Linked DNA regions of Homo sapiens: all the other regions are linked to region 1. Evidence: promoter capture Hi-C in 16 types of primary human blood cells and fetal thymus (Javierre and others, 2016). All regions are on one chromosome and are shown on one strand. Each heading gives the region's core, a stretch centred on a gene start or on the middle of the fragment in contact. The rest is flanking DNA. Distances are from core to core; before and after follow the strand shown.

Region 1 (4,770 bases), core at 868-3,367:
ACACTTGCACCCTTAAAGCTATTGAAATAAGATAAATAAATAAAATAGAATAAGATCAGCTTTCTCTCCCACCTCATCTGGCTACGATGGGATTTTAAAAAGGCAATGTTTTGCATATGGGAGCTCTATCAACATTTTAGGGATTAGGAGCAGGCACACAACTGGAAGATGTTGACTGATCTTGTGGGGGTAGGATCCCACCTACCTCTCTCCTGCAAGTGACTCAGTTCATACCCTAAATGTCATGACTAAGGTTAGTTTTAAAGATGCCAGTCTGCTACCTATAAGAAGCCAGCTCTAGATTGCATTTACAATGATACCAACTTCTGGGTGGGAAACGGGGGTCTAGCCCAATCAGGGAATGGGGGATTTGGGGCGCAAGGTAAGAGGGAGAGGAAGGGAAGGGGTTAGCCTAGTCTCCACTTTGCTCCATCTCCAACCTTCCCAGGCCTGACCCCCACCTCTGGGCCCTCTCCCCCGGCAACCCACATAAGAAGCCAGCAAATGCACCTCTCGTTGTTGACCAGAAGGGGTCACTGCAGAGCAAGTAGCGCTCTCAGGCACTCAAATAAGCGGACGCAGGCGTGTCGAACACACACACTTCAAACGTAGATACCCTTTGGGGCGGGTACTCATTTACTCCAAGGTTCTTTCTTCTCCTGCCCCATCTTATCCTCTCTGTTGGCCTCTTCATCTTCACCTCCTAGTTACCTCCTGTTCCCCTTCAGAGAATTTCTGGAGTTCCCATTGTTCTCCCGACCCCCCCGCCCTACCCCGCCCTCATTGGGTCCCCATTGCTATCTGCTTTAGCAAAGAGCAGGAGTTTATTCTCGCTGTGACTGGGACTCAGCACCAGGTGCTTGGAGGCATTTAAGACTGAGCGAGGCCTCCTTCCAGGAATTTACAGCCTGGAAAGTGGAAGCGGGGTTGGGGGGAGGGGGAGGGCGTTAGGTGGGAGATGGGGGAGTAACAACTCTGCTAAGATTAAAAGGCTTCCAGGAAGGCAAGGGCTGAGGGGTCCCGCCACGATCTCTTTTTTTTATAATGAAAACCCTGGGGGAAAACAAGAGTCATTCTAACCAGATCTTCTGTGTCTGGGGTTGATTTGGGATTCTAAACCTCCACTTGCTTGGGATTACGATTGAACTGCGAGGCGGTAAGGAGATGGGGAGGAGAGACCGAAAAGTAACTATCCCCCTGCTAATCCTCGAGATTTTCCTCTCCAACCCTCCCACTAAGCGCTTTCTTTTCCAAAACGTACTCCTTTCCCGAGACTAGCGGCATTAGGAAAAGTGGCTGCAGGCGGATTCCCCAGGAGTGGATGGGGGTGGGGTGGGGTGAGATGGGAACTCTTTCCTCTGGACGGGGTTGGCGGCGGGGACGCTGGGCAGGCCGGCTGTGAGACACAAAAGAGATACCCTTGACAGCTCCGCATGCACAGATGTAACGCTGCGCCCCTTGGCGGGCGGGGGCCCTGCTCGGCAGATGGCGAGAAGCCGAATTGGTGAGGGATTGTCTATCAAATGGCACTTTCTGGGTGGTGGAGACCTCGCTAACCCCCGGCGCAAAGAGGAACGCAGGGCACCCTCTGTACCGGCCTAGGCCGTGTCTCCCAAAAGTGAGGGTCTGGGGGAGGCCGGCTGGGGTGGATAGATTAAGTTTTTTACGAGCCCCCCCAACCCCCCCCCCCCCCCCACGCAGAAGATCAGCTACAAGACTTGCGAAGGGGCTGGAAAGAAAGGTGGCCTGGCCCAAAGGGGGCACCCAGGAAAGGGCTGAGGAAGGCCAGCGATGATGGGAGAGGAGAGGGGCCTGGGAAGCAGGATCTCCTGCCTGGCGCAGATTGGGGTGCCAGGATGGCTTCTCAGAGGGATCAGCGCTGCAACTCGGTCGCCGCGGGGCCCTGGTGACAGGCGCACGCCCCGCCCTTTCTCCTCCCAAGACCTGCGGGCTTTTGTTATGCAGATGGCGGCAGGAGGCTGAGCCTGAGGAGGAGGGGGTTGGTGGGGAGGAGGAGAGACGGAGAGGGGGGAGGAAAGTGCAGCTCGCGCGACCAGCCTCCTCTTCCAACGTCACATTGTGCGAGAGACAAAACCCGGGCGCGCCGGAGCTCACACGCGCACGCACACACATCCGACCCCGTCGCCTCTTCTCTCCTGGTGCTGCCCAGAAAGCCAGCCCTCCCTTCCCTTCTTGGGGCGCAGAGGCTCAGCCAGCTCAGAGCGCAGCCTGGAGCCGACCCAGAAGGGCGAAGAAAGCCCAGCGGACGAGCCTCCTTTCTCTGCTGCCTGCCCGGGCTGGGGCGTCCCATCCCCCGCCCTGAACTCCGATCTCTCCCACCCCACCCCTCTCTGGGTTTCACCCGGACAGAGCCGGGAGCTGGGTGTCGCCCCCGTTTGGAATCCACGTTTCAGCACTTTGGACAGCGCCCCGGACGCCCCGGCCCCTTTGGGTTGGCGATGGCGAGCGTTCAGCAAGGCGAGAAGCAGCTTTTTGAGAAGTTCTGGCGAGGAACCTTCAAAGCGGTGGCCACCCCCCGTCCCGAGAGCATCATTGTCGCCAGTATCACGGCCCGCAAGCCGCTGCCAAGGTAATGATCTCCTTCTTAGAAGGGGGGATCCTGAAGGTCCTCCTTTCTGGCCTGTGCCCCAGAGCCCGGAGGGGTGGATGCAGGCAGCCGGGCCAGGGCGCCTGTCTTTTCCCGTCACTACTCGGCGGCTCCCGCTGAAACATGGGAACTCATTGCTTGTGTGAGGTGGAAGATGGTGAGAAGGGACAGGAATTCTTTGGGGGAAAGCAACGCTTATTGGACCCCCGTAGCTCCTATTCAAGAGGTTTTGCTACCTGAGGGTGGGCGGTGCAGATGGGGTACGACTTGACTGAAAAACTTTTCTTGGTGTCACAGAGTCCAGAGGGCAGGTGGGCCAAGGAATGGTGGATTTGAGATGTTTGGGGGGTGTTGTACCAGAAAAGGAGAACTGAGCCAGCTCAAGCAGCGTTCAGAGATAGCACACATTTCCATCCTCGGCTCGGAAACTAGCGAGCTTTGAACATTTTTGACAAAAGCCCATATGCTGTTCCCTCAAATACACCCAAAACAGCACCCTCCTCCACGCCTTTCTGGCGGCTGCTGCCGCTGCTGCTGAATTCTCTCCTCTCCAGCATCCAAAACCAAGACTCTGAGCTCAGGAGTCAGGGAGGAGCCTTCCAAGATCGTGAAGATGATCTTGGAAGAGTTTTATTTTGTTTTTTTTTGTTTTTTTTTTTTTTTTCCAAAAAGAATCTGATTGCTTTGAACTCAGGGATGAGAACCGATCCTTGGATGGTGGTAGACATGGTGCTGATGGAAGGAAGAATAAGGGAAGAAATGAAAGAAACAGGGGAACAGGAGGTGGGGTGAGAGGGAGAGGAGGTTGGGGGAAAATGGAAGCATTCCAAGACAGAGAAAAATCCAATTCTTTTCATAAATCATTCAATTTAGAGGAGTTTAAGAATGAAGGGAAGAAGGCTGTGCTCTCTGTCAGGGAAAATCAAGGTAGTATGAAAACTCATCTTTTGCTGGTGTTGGATGAGTGGTTTAGTAGGAGAAAAGAAAGAAGTGGACCAGGGGGACCACTTGGAGGATTTATTAATCCTGGCAGTCTGCATTAGGGAGCAGATTGAAAACATGTCTGCAAAAGTGCTTAGGACAGACTGAACGTCTGTTCTGGCACAACTGATTCTGAACTTTCCAGTGAGTGTGAGGTGGAAGACGTATGGGAAATTATGTCTGAAGAATCAAAGCCAGATTGGAGAAGTTTTCCTCTTCACTGTCTTATTGAGGATCATACAGGTCTTTAGAGAAATAGGTGTCCCATTTAGGAATGGGTGGCCAAGCATCACAACAGGCCAGTAGGGTGTAGCAGGCTTCAAGCTAAAGCAGCACCAGCCAGTGTTTGCAGACGGGAAGGAGGGGACACCCACCCACCCACTGACACAGGCTGGAGAAGGGGAACAATAATACCAAATGCCATTAAAGGCTGATGCTTCTCTGCTCCGAAGGAGGTTCTGTGTATAGAGTTTTGACGTCAGTGGTTTTTATCTTCCTGGGTTTCTGCTATCTATTCCACCTTTGGAACGTACCTACTGTTGGCTAATCAGGTGCTGCACTGGCCAAAGAAAATGCCCTTGTAGAAGGAACTAGAGGAAATTTCACAGGAAACTAGAAGTATGGCATTTAGTCCAGAGTCTTCCATCTATTTTAGGGGTGCAGGGAGAGGAAAGCGGATTCTTGGTGGTGTTTTGATTCAGGAAAGCACACCTATTATCTGCCTTGCTTGGTACTTTCCACTTTTGTCTGTCTCTCTGTTACTGTCCTGCCCTTTTCTTGGTCATATTTGCAATCACATGAATGGCCCACAAGGTCTTTCAACCCTCATCCTTTCTGCAGCTTTTTGCTAATTCTAATGTAATCCTGAGACTTTTATAATACTCCACTCCCCCTCTGCAACCAGTATCATTTCACTCTTGGTGCCTTTTAATGTCGTGGGTCTCCTTTGCCCTAGAAACCACCCCTGAGGTGAAAGCCTGAACCATAAGCCCTGGATTTATGTCACGCTAGGAGAATCCTGTGTAATACTTCTGTAATAGGCGTGGCCTCTCTGTAGAACAGATTCCGGTTTTATAACTGTTACTCCTGGTTTGGGGTAGAGAGTGAGAAGGGAACATTTGTTTCCAAGTCCTCAGGAAAGGTTGGATTGGAGTTGTCTTTTAACAGACTGGATAAAACCT
Region 2 (4,770 bases), core at 589-3,088, 390 kb after region 1:
CTCCTTTACAAAGTACTGAAATGCAGTCAAGCTGACTGACCTGGATCTAACCCTGGAGCAACTTCAACTTCCTGATGCTAAATGGGGAGCTCAGAATATAACTCCAATTCCCTTACAGTCATAAAATGCCTAGCACATAGCATTTACTCAATAAATAATCTGTGATTCTTTTGGTGGTGCTTAAGAGAACACTGATTGACCTAAAGAAAAGCTGGCTCCAATCACTCTAAACCCCACCGGCAGCTATGTGACTCTGAGCCAGTTACTTAACCTCTCTGAGCCTCAGTTTCCTCATTTGCAAATAGGGGTTTTCATCAGTCCAACCCTGCTTATCACAATTGAGGCACTGTCAATAGAAGCTTGCTGCCAAACCACTTACTACATGCCTCTGAGTGTAGGACCATGTCTGTCACCGTGGTGAGCAATTTCAGCAAAGAGGAGCAGCGTGGTGGACTTGAAACTGCACTGGTGAAAGTTTATGCTTTAGTTTTGCCACCAAAAATCTGTGCAAACTTAGGCAAGATACTTTCTCTCCGGGGTGGGGTGGGGGGGGGTCTCAGTTCCCTTATCTGTAAAATGAGATGGGGGGCGTCCCCCTTCATTTCCACAAGTTCTCATTAATGGAAGCTTGGCTTAGCCTCTTTTCTAGCCATCCAGATGTTTCTAAAATACACCACTTCTGACATGGCAGAGACCAAACATGTGGATGATTGACTACATTTTTCACGTTTCATTTGTTATCTAGACAGGCTTTAAGTACATGGATAATGAACCTGGAATTTCAAATGAACTTGAGCCAATTCCTTTCTCACTCTCTCTTTGAGGCAAGAAAGGTTTCTTTGAAGGAAATGAAGAGAACTTTATCTTTTTTTTTTTTTCTGCTCCTGACAGAACACCAGCTCTTGCCCAGGGGCTGAGTAGTAGGAAGCCAACTTGCCAGAGGGAGAAAACCTATGCTGAAGAGGCAGTTTTCTGTGCTGGTTAGGTACACAGACTTTGAAATTCCAAAAGCTCTGGGTTCTAATCCCAGCTCTGCCACTTAATGGCTGTTAGACTTTCATCTAGAGACTTAAGATCTGAGGGCCTTCTCGTCCTTAGATGGATAATAATACCTTTGTCACTGGGTTATTGTGAGGATTAAATAGATTAAAATATTAAATATAATGTATTACACCACTCATCCATGGCAGCCATGAAGAAATTACCTATAAGGGTCAATGCTATTACTCTCCTCCTTTTTAAAGATGAGAAAACTAAAGCACAGAGAAGTTAACTGACTTGCTCAACTTCAGAGGTAGTAAGTATGAAGCTAGGAAAGGAAACCTTATAGAAATAATAAAGACAAATACATAGATAGTTGCAATCTGGACGGGAAAGGGTATGATGAGAGATGCTATAGAGGGGTGGTGGTGTTCCTGGAAAGGGGTCTTGATCGAGACCCCAAGAGAGGATTCTTGGACCGCACATAAGAAAGAATACGGGGCAAGTCCATAGAGTAAAGTGAAACCAAGTTTATTAGAGAAGTAAAGAAACAAAAGAATGGCTACTCCATAGGCAGAGCAGTGGCATGGGCTGCTTAACTGAGTGTATTTATAGTTAGTTCTTGATTATATGCTAAACAAGGGGTGGGTTTTTCATGAGTTTTCTGGGAAAGGGGCAGGCAATTCCCAGAACTGAGGGTTCCTCCTCCTTTTAGACCATATAAGGGTCATTTCTGGTTGTTGCCTTGGCATTTGTAAACTGTCCTGGCGCTGGTGGGAGTGTCTTTTAGCATAATGCATTAAAATTATGAGCAGTGAGGACGACTAGAGGTTACTGTCATTGCCATCTTGGTTTTGGTGGGTTTTGGCTGGCTTCCTTACCGCATACTGTATTATCGGCAGGGTCTTTGTGACCCATATCTTGTGATACCAGTCCTGCCAACCGCCTATCTTTCTGTGACTAGGAATGCCTAGCCTCCTGGGAATGCAGCCCAGTTGGTCTCAGCCTCATTTTACCCAGTCCCTATTCAAAATAGAGTTGCTCTGTTTCCAGCGCCTCTGACAGTGGGGTTTAGGGACAACGTGTCTTAAGAATGTATCCATATGGACAGAAACTTTTGCCCCATTGATGTGCTGGTAAATGTTTAACAACCAGCTTTCTGGAAAAAACAAACAAGCAAGCAAAAAACCCTAATTTGCAATGTTTGTTTGCCAGTTTCCATGGTGTAAATATTCCCACTGTGGCCAATTTCAAGCTATCGATCACTGAACAAAGAATTGGGAAGCAGATGCATACAATCAGCTCTCATGCAATCACCCTCACCAGCTAGTACACCATTGCTTTCTCCGCACTGGACTTGAAAGATCCCCCTGAGCTGTCTTTGCTGGGCCACATCCCTCCACCCTACCTACTGACCCATCAGAGAATGTCCCCATACAAATAAAATGTGTCCATGAGCCCCTCCCCCCAACTGTCTCTCTATGAATAGCTCACTGATGGCTGTGTTTTACTTAATCAATCAAAATAATGGGGTGTGGAGTCAGGGACTGAGAGACCAGAGTCCTTCGTCCACCTAAACTGCTCCCTGTATATGACAAAGACAGTTTTCAGCAGAATGAACAGAAATAGAGCCGTGGAGGGAAGTGGCTTGGATGTCATGAAAATTTCATGTGTTTCTGATGCATGCAGGATGCAATGTGGGGAAGTGGGTGAGCCAGAAGGCCCTGGGGACAGTTTTCGAAATGAATCAAGTCCTCAGCTTCTTCCTGCAACAACCAGCCCCTCCCTTGAAGCTCTTAGTATAAAGTCTGACAAACGTGGAGCCACCTAATCAACTTGCCCGTTGTCTCTTTAAAAGACCTCCTCTCCTGACTTTCCTCTGGTGAAAAGAGCAGAGTGGTAATCAGACAGAAAGGTCACATTATACCAAGAAATGTGGCTGTTGGAAGAGAGCCCACACACCCACGCCCATCTGGATTTGTGTGTTGGACACGTTTTCTTCTTGTATTTCATTAATAACAAAGAAAGCATGGCCACCTTCAGAAAAACGCACTTGCTAATACCCCAGTGAAGCTTAGCCCACTCAATTGGAACAGCAGAGGCAACCCTCTCTGAGCTGAAGATTGGGGTTTGCCAAAAACTGCCTTACACTACAAGGCTCATCCTTGATCACTTTGATCCCTCCTGTCCTATCTTTCCAGGAATACCTGCAGGTCTCCAATTAACCAGAATGAAGAAACAGGGCCGAGGGCAGTGGCTCATGCCTGTAATCGCAGCACTTTGGGAAGCTGAGGCGGGCAGATCGCTTGAGTCCAGGAGTTTGAAACCAGCCTGGGAAACATGGTGAAACCCCGTCTCTACAAAAAATACAAAAATTTGTCAGGCATGGTGGCACGCACCTGTAGTCCCAGCTACTTGGGAAGCTGAGGTGGGAGGATCGCTTGAACCTAGGAAATGAAGCTTGCAGTGAGCCAGAATTGAGTCACAGCACTCCAGGCTGGGCAACAGAGTAAGACTTTGTCTCAAAAAAATAAAATAAAATAAAATAAAACTCAGGGGATGGTCCTAAGTACACAGTGGTAATCTCAGGATGCTGGCTTCGTCTGGTTCATTCCCAAACCTCCCTTAGGCTCCTATATCCTTTAAACAGTGTGCCCCTATATATTTCCAACAGAGTGGCTACTTTATAGGCAATGGTATAAGTAGTTGGGGCTGGGGTCATTTACCCATTTTGGAATATTGGGGGATGTTCTGTAGCTGCAGGGATTTAGGGCTAGAGAAAGGCCTTGTCTTTCTCTGGGCTGGATAGTATTTGCAAGCTTCCACTAGACAATGTGGATGGAGACTAAGCCCTCAATATTCCAACTCAGGCCAGACACAGTGGCTCACACCTGTAAACCCAGCACTTTGGGAGGCCAAGGTGGGCAGATTACTTGAGGCCAGGAGTTCGAGACCAGCCTGGCCAACATGGTGAAATCCCATCTCTACTAAAAATACAAAAATTAGCTGGGTGTGGTGGCACGTGCCTGTAATCCCAGCTACTTGGGAGGCTGAAGTATGGGAATCGCTTGAGCTTGGGAGGCGGAGGTTGCAGCAAGCTGAGATCGTGCAACTGCACTCCTGTCTGGGCGACAGAGCAACACTCCATCTCAAAAAAAAAAAAAAAAAAAAAAAAAGAAAAAGAAAGAAAGAAAAAATTCCAACCCAAGTCTCAAGAGACGGAGAAGTAAAATAAGAAATATCTTCCAATTGTTGTAAAGCCTTGTCTCTGTAACCACAAAAATCTGGTAAATTCAAATAATCAGTTCTGTTTTCTTTTTATTCTCAGTGTTTACATGCACAAGTAATAACATCACTACATTAACTCTGTAAACAGTTACAATATTATAAATAAGGTTAAAAGTATCATTCACCATCATCCCAAACCAGTTTTACTCCAGAAGTAACAACTGGTCACTATATAGTTATTAACTAAACTAACTAAATAGTTAATAACTAACAAAATAGTTACAAAACAGTTATTAACTATTTAGTGTGAGTCCTTCCATATTCCCACTTCTACGCACAACTAGCAAATGAAAAAATTTGGAATCAAATCCAGGAAAATTTGGTTTCAAAGTCTTTTCATTTTACCTCTACACATTTTTTTCTACACCAAATTTAACCGCTGTGTGAACACAGGCTCTTAAACCCTTTGCCAAGGAGCATAAGGAAGTGCTTGCGGTATGCCAGGCACAGACGTGGCATCGTTGTCTGGGGTAAATACTCGAGGTTTGCTGTCTCACGCCA
Region 3 (4,770 bases), core at 2,271-4,770, 350 kb after region 1:
TACTGTGTACATCCTACACCCAGCTGTTCCTAGATAATCACTGAGCAGAATAGGGGTCCTAGAACCAGGACTTTCCTGTGCAATGGGAGATTCATCCATTGGGCAACTTTGGCTCAGGGTCTCCCTGTCAGCCTGGCTGAGACTTTCTCAGAGCTGTGTCTCAGTGCATGGCTTTTCCTACCCAATCCTTTCTTCCTTCTCCTTTTCAACAGACTCTCCTTATATACTCCTTCTTCCTTCCCCTTTATCCTTCACAACCATTTTCCTCTATAAATCCCTAGCACATGTAATCTTATTCTGGCATCTTCTTGGAGGATCCCAATTAACACCTTATATACTGTTTCGGTGTGTGTGTGTGTGTGTGTGTGTGTGTGTGTGTGTGTGTGTGAGAGAGAGAGAGAGAGAGATTCTTCTCCACCCAGCTAGAGCTAGATTGGGAGATGCCATAAGACCAAAGAGCTTTTCTTACTAACTCTAGTTGGCCCCCCAAAGCACTAAATCGTTCTAGAAAATACTTCTGTTCATACGATTAAAAAAAACAACAGCTAGCATTTATTGAGCATGTATTATGTGCCAACTGTACTAAATATTTTATGTACATGATACCATTTTCACGAATGTACTATTATCTTCACTCTGTAATGAGAAAACCAAAGCTTTGAGCAGATAAGTTACTTAGTTAAAGTCACACAGCTGGTAAATGGCTGAGTTGGGATTTAGACACCAGCTCAACTAGTACTCCATATAGTCTCTCAATATCGGTTTGGAAAGAGCCTTAAATATCATGTAGTCTGACACCCCCAAGTGATCAAAAATCCAAGAAGCCATATGGCATTTAGTTGAACACCTCTAGTGCTGGGTAGTTTGTTCCCTCTCTAAAGAATATACCCCTTCCTAGACAGAGAAGGGAAATTCGTTATTTTGCTTCATCATCCTGGTAGCAGGTATAAAATTGGCATAACCATTCACTACACATGAGTTTTATACACGTGAAAAATTGAGGCTTGGAGAAGTGAACTTGACCCAGGTCTTATTGGTAACAAATGGCAGAGCCAGGAATTGAACGCATGTCTTTTCAGTTCTAGAGCCCTTCCTATTTCCAGTTCTTACATGGCTCTGACAGGTGAGTATTATAAAAACAACAAAGGAAATAAGGGCTAATATTTATTGAGCACTTCCTCCGTGCTAGGCATTGTGCTTTGCATGAGTTATCCCATTTGGTTTTCATCACAGTCCTATGAGAATTATCATTGAAGCTGCTCAGTGGCTAATTCAGTTGGATTCCAGAGGTCACACCTTTTAAAATTATGTTCTGCTGTGTACACATTTCTTCCTATTGAGCCCAAACCTCCTCCTATTCTTTGAGCTAATACAGAACTAGTTGAGTTCCTCTTTGCCAAGCCTGTTCTACAAAATCATATGAAGACAGCTTTTGTCTGTTCTGCTCAGGGCTGAACATTTCCCATCCTGCCTTGTTTTCTCATCCCCTCATCCCCTCATCCCCAGCCCTATCTCCCAAACATGATTCCCTTTATCTGCTTCATTCTGAAAGTGTCTGCCGATTGCTTAATGCTGCCCACAAAAGAAGCCGGAGAACCAAAACTTCCTGTGAAAGGGAAGGTCAGGGTCAGTCTTTAGGCAATGGTGAGAAAATAATGACTTTCAGGCACCAGCATCTAGAGTTACTTGGCTAGGTATTTTGCATTCTGTAGAGTGTCATCTTGCAGTAGATGCCTTCTAAAGAGAAGATGAGCTGGGCGCCATGGCTCACACCTGTAATCCCAGCAGATAACTTGAGTTCAGGAGTTTGAGACCAGCCTGGCCAACATGGTGAAACCCCGTCTCTACTAAAAATACAAAAATTAGCCTGGCCTGCCTGGTGGCATGCCCCTGTAATCCCAGCTACTCAGAAGGCTGATGCAGGAGAATCGCTTGAACCCGGGAGGCGGAGGTTGCAGTGAGCCGAGATCACGCCACTGCACTCCAGCCTGGGCAACACAGCAAGACTCTGCCTCAAAAAAAAAGAAAAAGAAAAAGAAAGAAAGAAAGAGAGAAGATGCAGCCATAATGATATCATAATCCCCAGCAGCTCAAGGTTGTTGGATAAAACAGGAATCAGATCGATCCAGTGTGAAACAATGCCAAGGATAAGGCATTCAAATCCAAACATACGAAATAAATCTGCTGCAGGCTGGGAACCTACCCCGTAGGGTTATTGGAAGGATTAAATGAATTAATGTATGCGAAGTGCTTAGTACAGTACCTAGCACAGAGCAAGTGATCAATAAATATCAGTTAGTACTAACATCTGCTGTGAAATGAACCCAGCACAGTGAGAATGCCTGATTCTTCCTCGGGAAGTGATGTCAGGGAATAATAATAGTACCACTTAGCTAGGACTCCCCATGGGCTCAGCCTTCATATGCATCATCCACTTCAATTCTTAACAACCTGTGGCAAAGATAGTATCCCCATTTTAAAGACATAGAAGCCAAACTCAGCAAAGTTAGGCATCTAAGTGGTTAAAAGCTTGCTCTTTAGACTCAAACAGTTCTGGCTTTGAATTTCAGCTGCAGCACATGCGTGACTTTAAACTTGTCATTTAATGTCTCTGTGCTTCAGTTGCTTAGGCTGTACAATGGGGTAATAAAACACCTTCTTTAAAGAGGTGCTGTATGGATTGAGTCAGTATGTGACACTTAGAACAGTGTCTAGCACATCCTAAGCACTCAATAAATGTCATATGCATACATGCCCACACACACAAATACGTATATACACACATATATACATGTCTACATATGTATATTCATATATGTGTATATGTATGTGTGTGCATATATCTATATCTATATACAGCTGTCCCTTTTCTTTGCTCCCACAATACCCTATGATACTTTCCCAGCACATCATAAATCATCCTGCCTTATAACAATGTTTCTTATCTTTTGCTCCCCATCCCAAACATACACACTATAGATCGTGAAGTCCTGAAGGTCTCATTTTTTTTAATTTCATTTTTACTTTATTATATTTTATTTTAGCAGAGTCAATAAATCTTTGCTAAATAAATGGAATAACAATATTTCATTTTATGAAATGAAGGGCTTTGAAGGATGAGCAGGAGTTTGTCAGGTGGAAAAACGGGAGAAATAGGCATCTCAGGTTAAGAATTGCAGGACTACAGGCCACCCACCCCAAGGCACAAAAAATTACTAGTGGGTTAGCAGCAGTACAGAGCAGAGTTTGAAAAGAAGGATTCGCTTGTAGTCAGGCAGAGAGAAAGGGTATGGTCCTCAGGCCTAAAAACAGAAACCAATTTGTTTAGAGAATGCAGCTCCGGTGGCAGCCGGCTGCTCTGAGCCGGCGTCCCAGCAACCTGGGAGAGTTCACGACCCCCATGACCCCGCCCCCACGAATTCCAGCCAATGAGGAAGCCCTCCTCGGCGTCCCGTTGCCAAGCAACTGGGTTCCCCCCACCCCCACCCGGCCCAAGGGTTAGCAGTTGCCTACTTTCCCCGCAGTGCGATAAACCCCTCGTTGGGGCCGCCTTAGTTCTCGGCCGCTCTCGGAGGATGGCGATCTGGGAGCCCCTCCATGGGACCCCTCTCACACTTTGTCACTGGAATTTTATTTATTTTTTAGTTCATATTTTATTTTGCTTATAGAAGAGAAAGATATCCCTTCCGAAGAGGAGGAAGCTTACAGAAGTTTATAACCTTTCAAAAAGTAAATAAGTCCAGGCTTGCCTGATTCTGCCCTACCCGGACTTCCTTATCCCGTCTGTGGGAGACCCAGGTGCTTTCTCATTACTCTTCAGAAGGAAACCGCTTTGGAGTTCGTGTAATTGGGACTTGGGGATCAGGGAGAAGTTGCCGAAACTTCTCATACCAGTAACTACTGAAGTAGAAGATTCTGGAAAAATCCTTGTCTTGGGGGCACAGGCTAAAACCTGAAGGATTTTTAAGATGACCAAGGTTCCAGCCACCAAGAAGCTTCAGAGTTCCCCCAACTCGGGGGCTGTCCGGCCCTTTTATGCCTCGGAGAACCTAAGGCAGGTAAGTCTCCCCTCTGCTGAAACCAATCATGTTTTCGAGAACAAGTGAAATAGGAATTAGCTGGGTCAAATGGTATTTCTAGTTCTAGATCCCTGAGGAATCGCCACACTGACTTCCACAATGGTTGAACTAGTTTACAGTCCCACCAACAGTGTAAAAGTGTTCCTATTTCTCCACATCCTCTCCAGCACCTGTTGTTTCCTGACTTTTTAATGATTGCCATTCTAACTGGTGTGAGATGGTATCTCATTGTGGTTTTGATTTGCATTTCTCTGATGGCCAGTGATGATGAGCATTTTTTCATGTGTTTTTTGGCTGCATAAATGTCTTCTTTTGAGAAGTGTCTGTTCATGTCCTTTGCCCACTTTTTGATGGGGTTGTTTGTTTTTTTCTTGTAAATTTGTTTAAGTTCATTGTAGATTCTGGATATTAGCTTTTTGTCAGATAAGTATGTTGCGAAAATTTTCTCCCATTTTGTAGGTTGCCTGTTCACTCTGATGGTACTTTCTTTTGCTGTACAGAAGCTCTTTAGTTTAATTAGATCCCTTTTGTCAATTTTGTCTTTTGTTGCCATTGCTTTTGGTGTTTTAGACGTGAAGTCCTTGCCCATGCCTATGTCCTGAATGGTATTGCCTAGGTTTTCTTCTAGGGTTTTTATGGTTTTCATGTCCTTTGTAGGGACATGGATGAAATTGGAAATCATCATTCTCAG

Evidence for each region. Contacts are between HindIII fragments. The CHiCAGO score rates a contact against its expected background, and 5 or more counts as called.
Region 2: a contact is called between a fragment that was not itself captured here and the fragment with the promoter of SRRM4 in region 1, in 1 of 17 cell types (M2 macrophages). The highest score is 5.2, in M2 macrophages.
Region 3: a contact is called between the fragment with the promoter of CCDC60 here and the fragment with the promoter of SRRM4 in region 1, in 9 of 17 cell types (M1 macrophages, endothelial precursors, neutrophils and 6 more). The highest score is 14.5, in M1 macrophages.

Annotation. Positions count from the first base shown.
Region 1 is chr12:118,979,424-118,984,193 of GRCh38, forward strand. It overlaps SRRM4 (serine/arginine repetitive matrix 4), which reads left to right and starts at 2,118. Exons shown (of 13, transcript NM_194286.4): 1 at 2,118-2,590. The coding sequence starts at 2,460. The HindIII fragment of the contact is 13,569 bases long and covers 1-4,770 here.
Region 2 is chr12:119,373,123-119,377,892 of GRCh38, forward strand. All of the region lies in intron 1 of CCDC60 (coiled-coil domain containing 60), which reads left to right. Among named protein-coding and RNA genes, the nearest start is that of CCDC60, 41 kb to the left of the region's middle. RefSeq lists an enhancer at 2,724-2,783. The HindIII fragment of the contact is 2,427 bases long and covers 626-3,052 here.
Region 3 is chr12:119,331,209-119,335,978 of GRCh38, forward strand. CCDC60 (coiled-coil domain containing 60) reads left to right here and starts at 3,521. Exons shown (of 14, transcript NM_178499.5): 1 at 3,521-4,058. The coding sequence starts at 3,969. The HindIII fragment of the contact is 1,172 bases long and covers 2,528-3,699 here.